Linked DNA regions of Homo sapiens: regions 1 and 2 are each linked to region 3. The links are contacts of gene promoters, found by promoter capture Hi-C in blood cells and fetal thymus (Javierre and others, 2016). All regions are on one chromosome and are shown on one strand. Each heading gives the region's core, a stretch centred on a gene start or on the middle of the fragment in contact. The rest is flanking DNA. Distances are from core to core; before and after follow the strand shown. Region 1 overlaps LOC124904244 (a long non-coding RNA gene). Region 2 overlaps RAB31 (RAB31, member RAS oncogene family). Region 3 holds the start of TXNDC2 (thioredoxin domain containing 2).

Region 1 (2,888 bases), core at 374-2,873, 200 kb after region 3:
TTACATATTTTAAGTTCAGGCTAAATGTTTTTCCATACACAGAGAACTGTAGCCTAACTGGACATGTGACCAGATTGTAAGGCACTCCTGTAACAAGTAGTCAAGCCTCAGCCAATTATAGCAGCCGAATTTTGGCCACTCAAAGGCAGCCAACTGTTGAAACCATGTTTAACTAAGTGCCAAACTGTCGCCAGCCAGCTGTTTCTGTGCTTCACCTCCATTTTCTGTAAGTCACTGCCCTTTTACTGTCCATAAATGTTATCCGGCCACATGGTGGCCCTGGAGTTGCGCTGCTGGTTCTGGGGGATGCCCAATTCATGAATCATTCTTTGCTCAATTAAACTCTGCTCAATTTAATTTGCCTAAAGTTTTCCTTTTAACGGGATGGTACATAGTACAAGGGAATAATTAGACTAAATGCTAATCAGTCCTGCCGAACTAATTCAAAAAGAAAGACCTGAAAATATCAAATTGTTTACAAGTGACATAATTGTGTTCTAGAACAAATATTTATATAAACATAAAAATGTCCATCACCCTACTAAGTAAAATTCATAAAGTCTGGCATCCAATCAAAAATTACCAGTCAAGCAAAGATCCCTGAGAATACAACCTATAATGAGAAAAACAAATTAAATTTGATCCTTAACTGACACAGATGTTAGAATTAGAAGACAAGGCACTAAACTGTATTACATATGTTCAAAAGGTAAGTAGAGACAAGGAAAATATCAAAAAGACTCAAAGCAAGCTTCTATAGATGAAAACTGCAATGTTCAATATGAAAAATTCACTGGCTAGAATTAAAGGCAGATTAATTACCTGGTTGGTCCTGCCTATAAAAACAAATTTAAAAAATAAAATAAAGACTAGCTAGACATTACGTAAGAAAAGATTACTGAACTTGAAGACATAAAAATAGGAATTACCAATAATGAAACCCAGAGGAACAAGAGAATTTTAAAATATGAACAGACTGGGCACAGTGGCTCCTGCCTATAATCCCAGCACTTTGGGAGGCTGAGGTGGGAGGACCACTAGAGGCCAGGAACTTGAAACCAGCCTGGGCAACATAGCAAGATCCCATTTCCACCCACAAAAATTTTTTTTTAATCCAGGCATGGTGGCATGTGCCTATAGTTCCAGCTACTTAGGATGCTGAGGTGAGATGATAGCTTAAGCCCAGGTATTTGAGGCTGCAGTGAGCTATGATTGCCACTGCACTCCAGCCTAAGTCACAGAGTGAGACCCTGTCTCAAATAAGTAAGTACATAAAAATGAACAGTCAGATGACACCCAGAATGATGATACGAGGCCACCACTCCTTGGATTCATCCCCTGACAAAACAACCAAAACTGGTGAAAATTATGAAACAATGACCACTGAAAGTCTCTGAAACTTGTCCTAAGTCATACAGCAAACAAACAAACATTCAAGAAAATCTACCTAATCTCACTACAGACAGCAAGACTCTGTGGCACTTGGGCATAACCTGTTCCCTCCCTTCCCATCAGCCCAGCATGATGGAAGCCTGGCCCTAGGTAGGCATGGCCAAAAAGATGAGACTCCTTTTCCTCAAAGCTCCCAGTCAAGGGCTAGGGTATCTTTCTGGGAGAGAAAGTTTGCCAGCATCTCTCATCCTCTTTCTCCATGTTCTTTGTTACAGAGGCTAAATTATAGGTTAATCCACCCAAAAAGTCAGAGGCTCTCTTCTTTCATCACTTCTTCACTCATAGGAAGGTAGTGCTACCATAGTCATGGCAATCTGATATTGGGCCCATGTCCTGGCCCTCATTTGCTCACAGGGTAGTGGTTTTAAGTTGGGAGAGAGAAGGTGAGAAGACCAGAGACTACCACCCATATCCACCAACCCACTCATAAAGCAACGATGCTACTCCAAGAAAAGTGACCCACTGTCCCTACCCTTAGGTCTGAAGCAGGTACTCAGAGATTTTTCCTAGTGGTAGAGTCAGGCCGTAAGGACAGAGAACTCTGAAACTCTCCCCAAAGAAACTGACTTTATTTGGAGCACAGTGTCAGGGAGTTCAAGCCTAAGACCACTCTCAAAAACAATGGAGAGTTTGGTGATAAGCAATTAAGAGGAAGCAGTAGCTCCATGAGAGCAGCAAGCTAAATTATAGACCAGCCAGTTTACCAGAGAGGACTGAAAAAAGAGATAGCTAAGAAGAACCCTCCTAGAATCAGAACAAACCTCAAAGACTGGCTTCAAAAACTATCCCTGCAAATGTGTCTGAATTTAACAGGATCAACCAGTGGAGCAATTAATCCATAGGGTACTATTGAACACAATAAAGAATTTGATTGGTAATTAGTACAGCCTAAGAGCTGGTTGTGACTCAAACAAAGGCAGACAGCTTAACAGAAAGATTAAGGAAAAAGATAGTTGAAAGTGCCCTACTAAACTACTGTCATCCCAGGGTGACTGTGCATGTGACCAAGTCTGTGTCCTCTGAAGAATGACATCAGAAGCTTTATACTATGAGGGAAATAGACTTCACTAAAATAGTACAGCCAACTTACTAAATAAATAAATAAGCAAATAGCAACAAGCCTAGGAGGGAAGAAGGGAAGGGAAAAATCGGTATGCAAAATTGCTACAATATCTAAAAGTCTGTTTTTTTAATAAAAATTGTAACTCTTGCCAAACAACAACAATCAGTAAAGTATAAATCATACACAAGAAAAAAAAAAGGAAGACAACAGAAATTATCTTTGAGAAGGTACAGGTGTCAGATTTAACTGATTTCAAAGCAGCCATTATAAATATATTTTAAAAACTAAAGAAAACCATGATTAAAGAAATAAAGGAAGATACGACAGTGTCTCCTCATATAAAGTAAATAAAAAGATAGAATATATATTTTAA
Region 2 (2,700 bases), core at 151-2,650, 170 kb after region 3:
GGTATTTTTGTGACAGCAGCTCAAATTAAGACATAAGGGATGGGGGAAGGGACCATGAGAAGCTTGAAAATGCTCCTCAAATGATTCTGATACACACTCCAGAGATGCACTGAGCTCTGAAAGCTGAGGGAGGATGAAAGCAGCAATGCTGACCCTGAACAAAGGAGGAACAAAGGGACCCTGATGGATTCCATCAGCCTGGGATGGGTGCATAAGACACAGTGTTACCATATGCCAGGCACTGCTGGGAAGATAGCCCACTATATCATATTTATTCTCGTGTAACATAGAACGTACCCAGAGTCACCAATGCTGAACATACTTTCCACAAATGGTTCAATTTAGTAGAGGAATCAGTTGTGCCAAGAAATAAATGCTGTGGCTAGCCACTCAACCCTCCCCACCATCCCCCTTCCCCAAGAAATGCCAGTCTCGGGAGAAAAAATAGTAAGTTACTAGAATCTCAGACTTGGAAAGCAAATGTGATCATTACCTAGCCCAACCCACTATCCTATGCATTACTTCCTTCCACAATAACACTAACAAATTCTTATCACCTTATTGGATACTCTGTCATACAGTGCTCATAGCAACTCATGTGAGGTTGCACAGTTCTGATGATCTGCCTTACTGTGAGTATAAATCTGTTCTACTCTTGCGTCCTAGTGTCCCTGGGGAGACAAGAGGCCTTCCATGCGAAGGCCCTGGACATAGGTGAAGTACCCATTACCCAGATGTCTCACCAAATCCCAGGTATTTGACTGCTCTTTAATGAGCCACCATATACATTCCAACAAAGATCACAAGATGCTTCAACAAGCTCCTTACCAGAAGCAGGGAAGCCATCGGCTCTTTTAACTGATCACTCAGCTATTGAGGAAGTGGTAGGAATTTCTAAATTGTTGTCAAGACAACCAAAGTCCAAATATAAATCTCTTTGGGATTCCATCAGGAAGCAGTTTTTAAGTGCACGCAGTTTTTAAGTGCACGCACACAAATACCCCAAGGAGATAACAAAACAAAGGTCCCCTCCTTCTCTTTCTCCTCCTCCCCACTCTCTCCCTTCCTCCTGCTTCTTGCCACATGGTGATGTGTGTTAAAAATGCATACTGGGAAACTTTTCCACCTTTGGGGTTGAAGCAGCTGCTGCCTCAGTGTTGTTTTTGTTAAGTATTTTTTGTTGTTGTTGTTAACATACTTTGTTGCCTTTAAGCTTCATGTTTCATAATACCAGTTCAGATCACAAAGTGGGACGAATGACACTTTCCTGGTAAGAAGGAAACTCATGGGGTCCTGCCCAGGGTGCTTCCCCCTATCAAGCACACCCTCCTGCACGGCTGACTTCCACAGGTGACTCGGCTCAGGCCAGGAAAGGGCGTTCACAAAGGCTTGCTGGGCTGTCCCCATGTGGAATAAACCCAAGAAAGTCCACACATGAAATGTGAGCCAAGAATTTATAACAGGTAACCTAAACAAACCCAACGCTCTTCAGTCCTTGGTTTTCCAAGAACACAAAGCATTCAGAGAATGTTCCACAGGCCATTATCCATCCCATGTGGGAGCATTCACCAATAGAAATAAGCTTGGACATTCCTAATGTGCCAGGAAGACAGGAGAGGTTCAGGTAAAGAAGACCTGGCACCCGGCCCACTTTCACTCCCACCTGCTGCAAATGACTCTAACGTCAGGAGGTAAGACCTCCGACCCCATGGATGGAGCAGGAAACTACAGCAAAGAGTGACCAGCAGGGAGCCTGTGCTGAAAGCGCCTACTGCCCATGCCTAAAACAACCTATACCTTAAATGCGAAGCATGTCCCCAAGTCCCCACTGAGCACAGTACCAGGCACAAAAAGACCAACCCCTCAGCCTTCCCAGTGAGAGTGATATTTTGTTATGAAGTCTATGTTCTCTATCACCTTATAAGGGAAACCCGACAGAAAGTGATTCTAACAGGCAGAAAGAAGGTGTGGCTGTCAGGGTCTTGGTCATAGCAAGACTTCAGGGAGGTGTCTCATGGCTAAAAAACAGGAAGCTGAATGCCAGCCACACACAAAACTTCACCCAGAAAAGACAGACCTCCCTACGCAAAGCACAAATGAGCCCAAGGTTCCTGTTAAAATGTTGAAAGAGCCTGGGCAACATAGGGAGACCCCATCTCTACAAAAATAATAAAAAGTATTAGCTGGGCTGGGTGGTACACACCTGTGGTCCCAGCTACTTGGCAGGCTGAGGTGGGAGGATCACCTGAGCTTGGGAGGCTGAGGCTGCAGTGAGCCAGGATGGCACCATTGCACTCCAGCCTGGGTGACAGAGTGAGACCCTATCTCAAAAATATACATATATTTTTTAAAGGACTTTTGGACTTAGCACTGACTGATCCACAGGGTCTCTCGAATCAAGAGAATAAACCTAGGCTGATGCAGAAGGATCCACTGAGCCCAGGAGTTGGAGGGTGCAGTGAGCTATGATGGCACCACTGCACTCCAGCCTGGATGACAGAATGTGACCTTGTCTCAAAACAAAAAAGAGGAGAGAGAGAGAGAGAGAAGAGAGTAAACCGAAGACAGTCAAATGGTTTTGATCTCCCTCAATGTTATCCCACCCAGAGAATCAGCCTAATTGGATGAGCAGCTAGAAACACAGCCTGCTGCACACATCTCACCCAGGAAAGAGCCAGCCAAACGAGGGGATGTGGCAAA
Region 3 (2,721 bases), core at 171-2,670:
CCTCTAGGGACTTGGGGAGGTCACCCTCCTTGGGCTGGATGGCTTCTTCTGGGGACTTGGAGATGTCACCCTCCTTGGGCTGGCTGGGCTTCACTGAGGCCTTGGGAATATTGCCCAGCTTGGGCTGGATGGGCTTTGCTGAGGACTTGGGGATGTCACCCTCCTTGGGCTGGATGGTTTCTTCTGGGGACTTGGGGATATCACTCTCCTTGGGCTGGCTGGGCTTCACTGAGGTCTTGGCAATATTGCCCAGCTTGGGCTGGATGGGTTTTGCTGAGGACTTGGGGATGTCACCCTCTTTGGGCTGGATGGCTTCTTCTGAGGACTTGGGGAGGTCCTCCTTCTTGGATTGGATGGTTTCTTCTGGGGCCTTGGGGATGTCACCCTCCTTGGGCTGGCTGGGCTTCACTGAGGCCTTGGGAATATTGCCCAGCTTGGGCTGGATGGGTTTTGCTGAGGACTTGGGGATGTTACTCTCTTTGGGCTGGATGGCTTTTTCTGAGGACTTGGGGAGGTCCTCCTTCTTGGATTGGATGGTTTCTTCTGGGGCCTTGGGGATGTCACCCTCCTTGGGCTGGATGGTTTCTTCTGAGGACTTGGGGCTGTCATCCTGCTTGGGATGGCTGGTGTTTGCTGAGGACTTGGGTAGGTCATCGCCCTCCTGTGAGGCATCAGACTCCTCTGTGCGCATGTGGAACGTGTGGCTGACCATGGGGAGAAAGGCCTTCTCTTTGGCCTGGGCTATTTCCAAGAACTCTAGGGCCAGGAGAGGCACGTTGCTGGACAGGACTAGTAATGAGCTTTCTGTACCAAAAAACATAAAATAAAATAAAATAAAATAAATCAAATAGAAATGCAAAAGAAGAACCAAAGAAATTCTCTTCATATTCCAAGGAAGACTGATGTCACTCTTCGAGATCACGAATGAAGTCTGATGAATGATGTATTAATCTGAAAAACTCATTCAGCAGAAGGACAAACAGCGTGTGGTTACACGTATCTTCTGTATACATGTTCTTAAGCTACAACTTTCCCTTCTTGGTTCAACACCCTGCCCGCTCCCTAACTGCATAGGTCTTTAAGGCAACCCTCTTTCCTCCCCTACTTACCATTAGCATCACCTTCACTTGTTTCTTCCTGAGTGCCCAGCCTCATTTCTGGTTTTCCAGAGGCTCCAGCTTTAACACTTTCCATTCCTAGTTCCTTGTCTACATCCATTCCTGATCCTTCATAGATGCCTCATAGTAAAGGCCGTACCCTCCAACTTTTTCCAAGCTATCCATCCTAACATCAAAATATGAGTAAAACTTACATTTGGGTGGCACGTTACAGTTGGTTTTCCCTCTCTGTATTCACAACAGTGATATTTGAGAGCTTCAAGGTGGCTCCCCTGTGCTGAGGCTGGGACTACGCATTCACTGGCATCATTTCCTAGAACACAACAAACCACTGAGGTCAGAACCATTATGATGAGTAGTTTACACATGAGAAGCTATGTAGCTCACTTAAGGTCACAAAGCTAGGGTGGGGGCAGGCTCCAAAGCTCATGCTCTGCACTGTGAGGCTGTGCTGGACTGCTCGCCACAAGTCCCGTCCAGCCTGGGTTCTGTGAATCAACCATCTTATCATCTTTCTCCAGGATCCCCCAGCTCCAACATTCTCTTTACGACTCACCCATTGTGACCAGCTCCTAAGTATCTCCTCGAAACCATGTTAGCCTCCTCTGCAAAGTGTCCCACAATGTCAAATGTTCAGCTCCTGCTAGACAGCCTCTTTCCCCACCTCCCCCACCTCCCAGGCGCACCAGCCCAGCCTGTGCCCTCCCCCATGCAGACACATCCAAGTACACGGCTCTTCCAGCCTTTACATACAGGAGAACAACCTCTTTGTGAATAATCCTGGTTCCATAAGCCACATCTACCCCATCCTGTGGAATGGGAAGCCAAATACCTGTCCCCCAGGGAGACTTATTTTATTAGTTCAGGACCACTGGCTCATTTTCCACCCTCACTCTGCACAACACATCCAGTCCAAGGCAGGAAGAATCAGTGTGGAATTTTGCCTTCTCTACATGTACTTTGAACAAATCCTCATATGTTTCAGTTTCACCCCAACAATATAAGTGTTGAAAGTGGTCAGGCATGGTGGCTCACACCGTGATCTCAGTACTTTGGGAGGCCAAGGTGGGAGGATTTCTTGAGCCCAGGAGTTTGAGATCAGCCTAGGCAACATAGCAAGACCCCATCTCTACAAAAAATACAAAACCTAGCCAGGCACAGTGGCACACGCCTGTCCCAGCTACTTGGGAAGCTGAGGTGGGAGGCTTGCTTGAGCCAGTGAGTTCAAGACTGCAGTGAGCCGTGATCACTACATCGTACTCTAGCCTGGGCAACAGAGCAAGGCCCCGTCTCTAAAAACTAAAAATAAAAGTGTTGAAATCTAAATGATAAGACCTCCACATTGTCAATAGAAACCTCGAAACATCTAATGGCAATGGTTCAATTATCTGGATTTTTATACCAAAACACATTTTACTAAGGGGTAGAGAGACTATTGGCCTTAGCAAATCCATAGTTCCTTTTTTTTTTTTCTTTGAGACAGTCTTGCCCTGTCACCGAGGCTGGAGTGCAGTGGCACAATCTCGACTCACTGCAACCTCTATCTCCCAGGTTCAAGCAATTCTCTTGCCTCACCCTCTCGAGTAGCTGGGATTACAGGCAT

The links. Contacts are between HindIII fragments. The CHiCAGO score rates a contact against its expected background, and 5 or more counts as called.
Region 1: a contact is called between a fragment that was not itself captured here and the fragment with the promoter of TXNDC2 in region 3, in 1 of 17 cell types (erythroblasts). The highest score is 8.5, in erythroblasts.
Region 2: a contact is called between a fragment that was not itself captured here and the fragment with the promoter of TXNDC2 in region 3, in 1 of 17 cell types (erythroblasts). The highest score is 5.5, in erythroblasts.

The regions. Positions count from the first base shown.
Region 1 is chr18:9,680,932-9,683,819 of GRCh38, reverse strand. It overlaps LOC124904244 (a long non-coding RNA gene), which reads left to right. Exons shown (of 2, transcript XR_007066281.1): 2 at 1-357. Among named protein-coding and RNA genes, the nearest start is that of RAB31, 26 kb to the left of the region's middle. The HindIII fragment of the contact is 1,740 bases long and covers 754-2,493 here.
Region 2 is chr18:9,711,019-9,713,718 of GRCh38, reverse strand. All of the region lies in intron 1 of RAB31 (RAB31, member RAS oncogene family), which reads right to left. All of the region lies in intron 1 of LOC105371981 (a long non-coding RNA gene), which reads right to left. Among named protein-coding and RNA genes, the nearest start is that of RAB31, 4.1 kb to the right of the region's middle. The HindIII fragment of the contact is 369 bases long and covers 1,216-1,584 here.
Region 3 is chr18:9,884,672-9,887,392 of GRCh38, reverse strand. It overlaps TXNDC2 (thioredoxin domain containing 2), which reads right to left and starts at 1,420. Exons shown (of 2, transcript NM_032243.6): 1 at 1,313-1,420; 2 at 1-804. The coding sequence starts at 712. The HindIII fragment of the contact is 12,861 bases long and covers 1-2,721 here.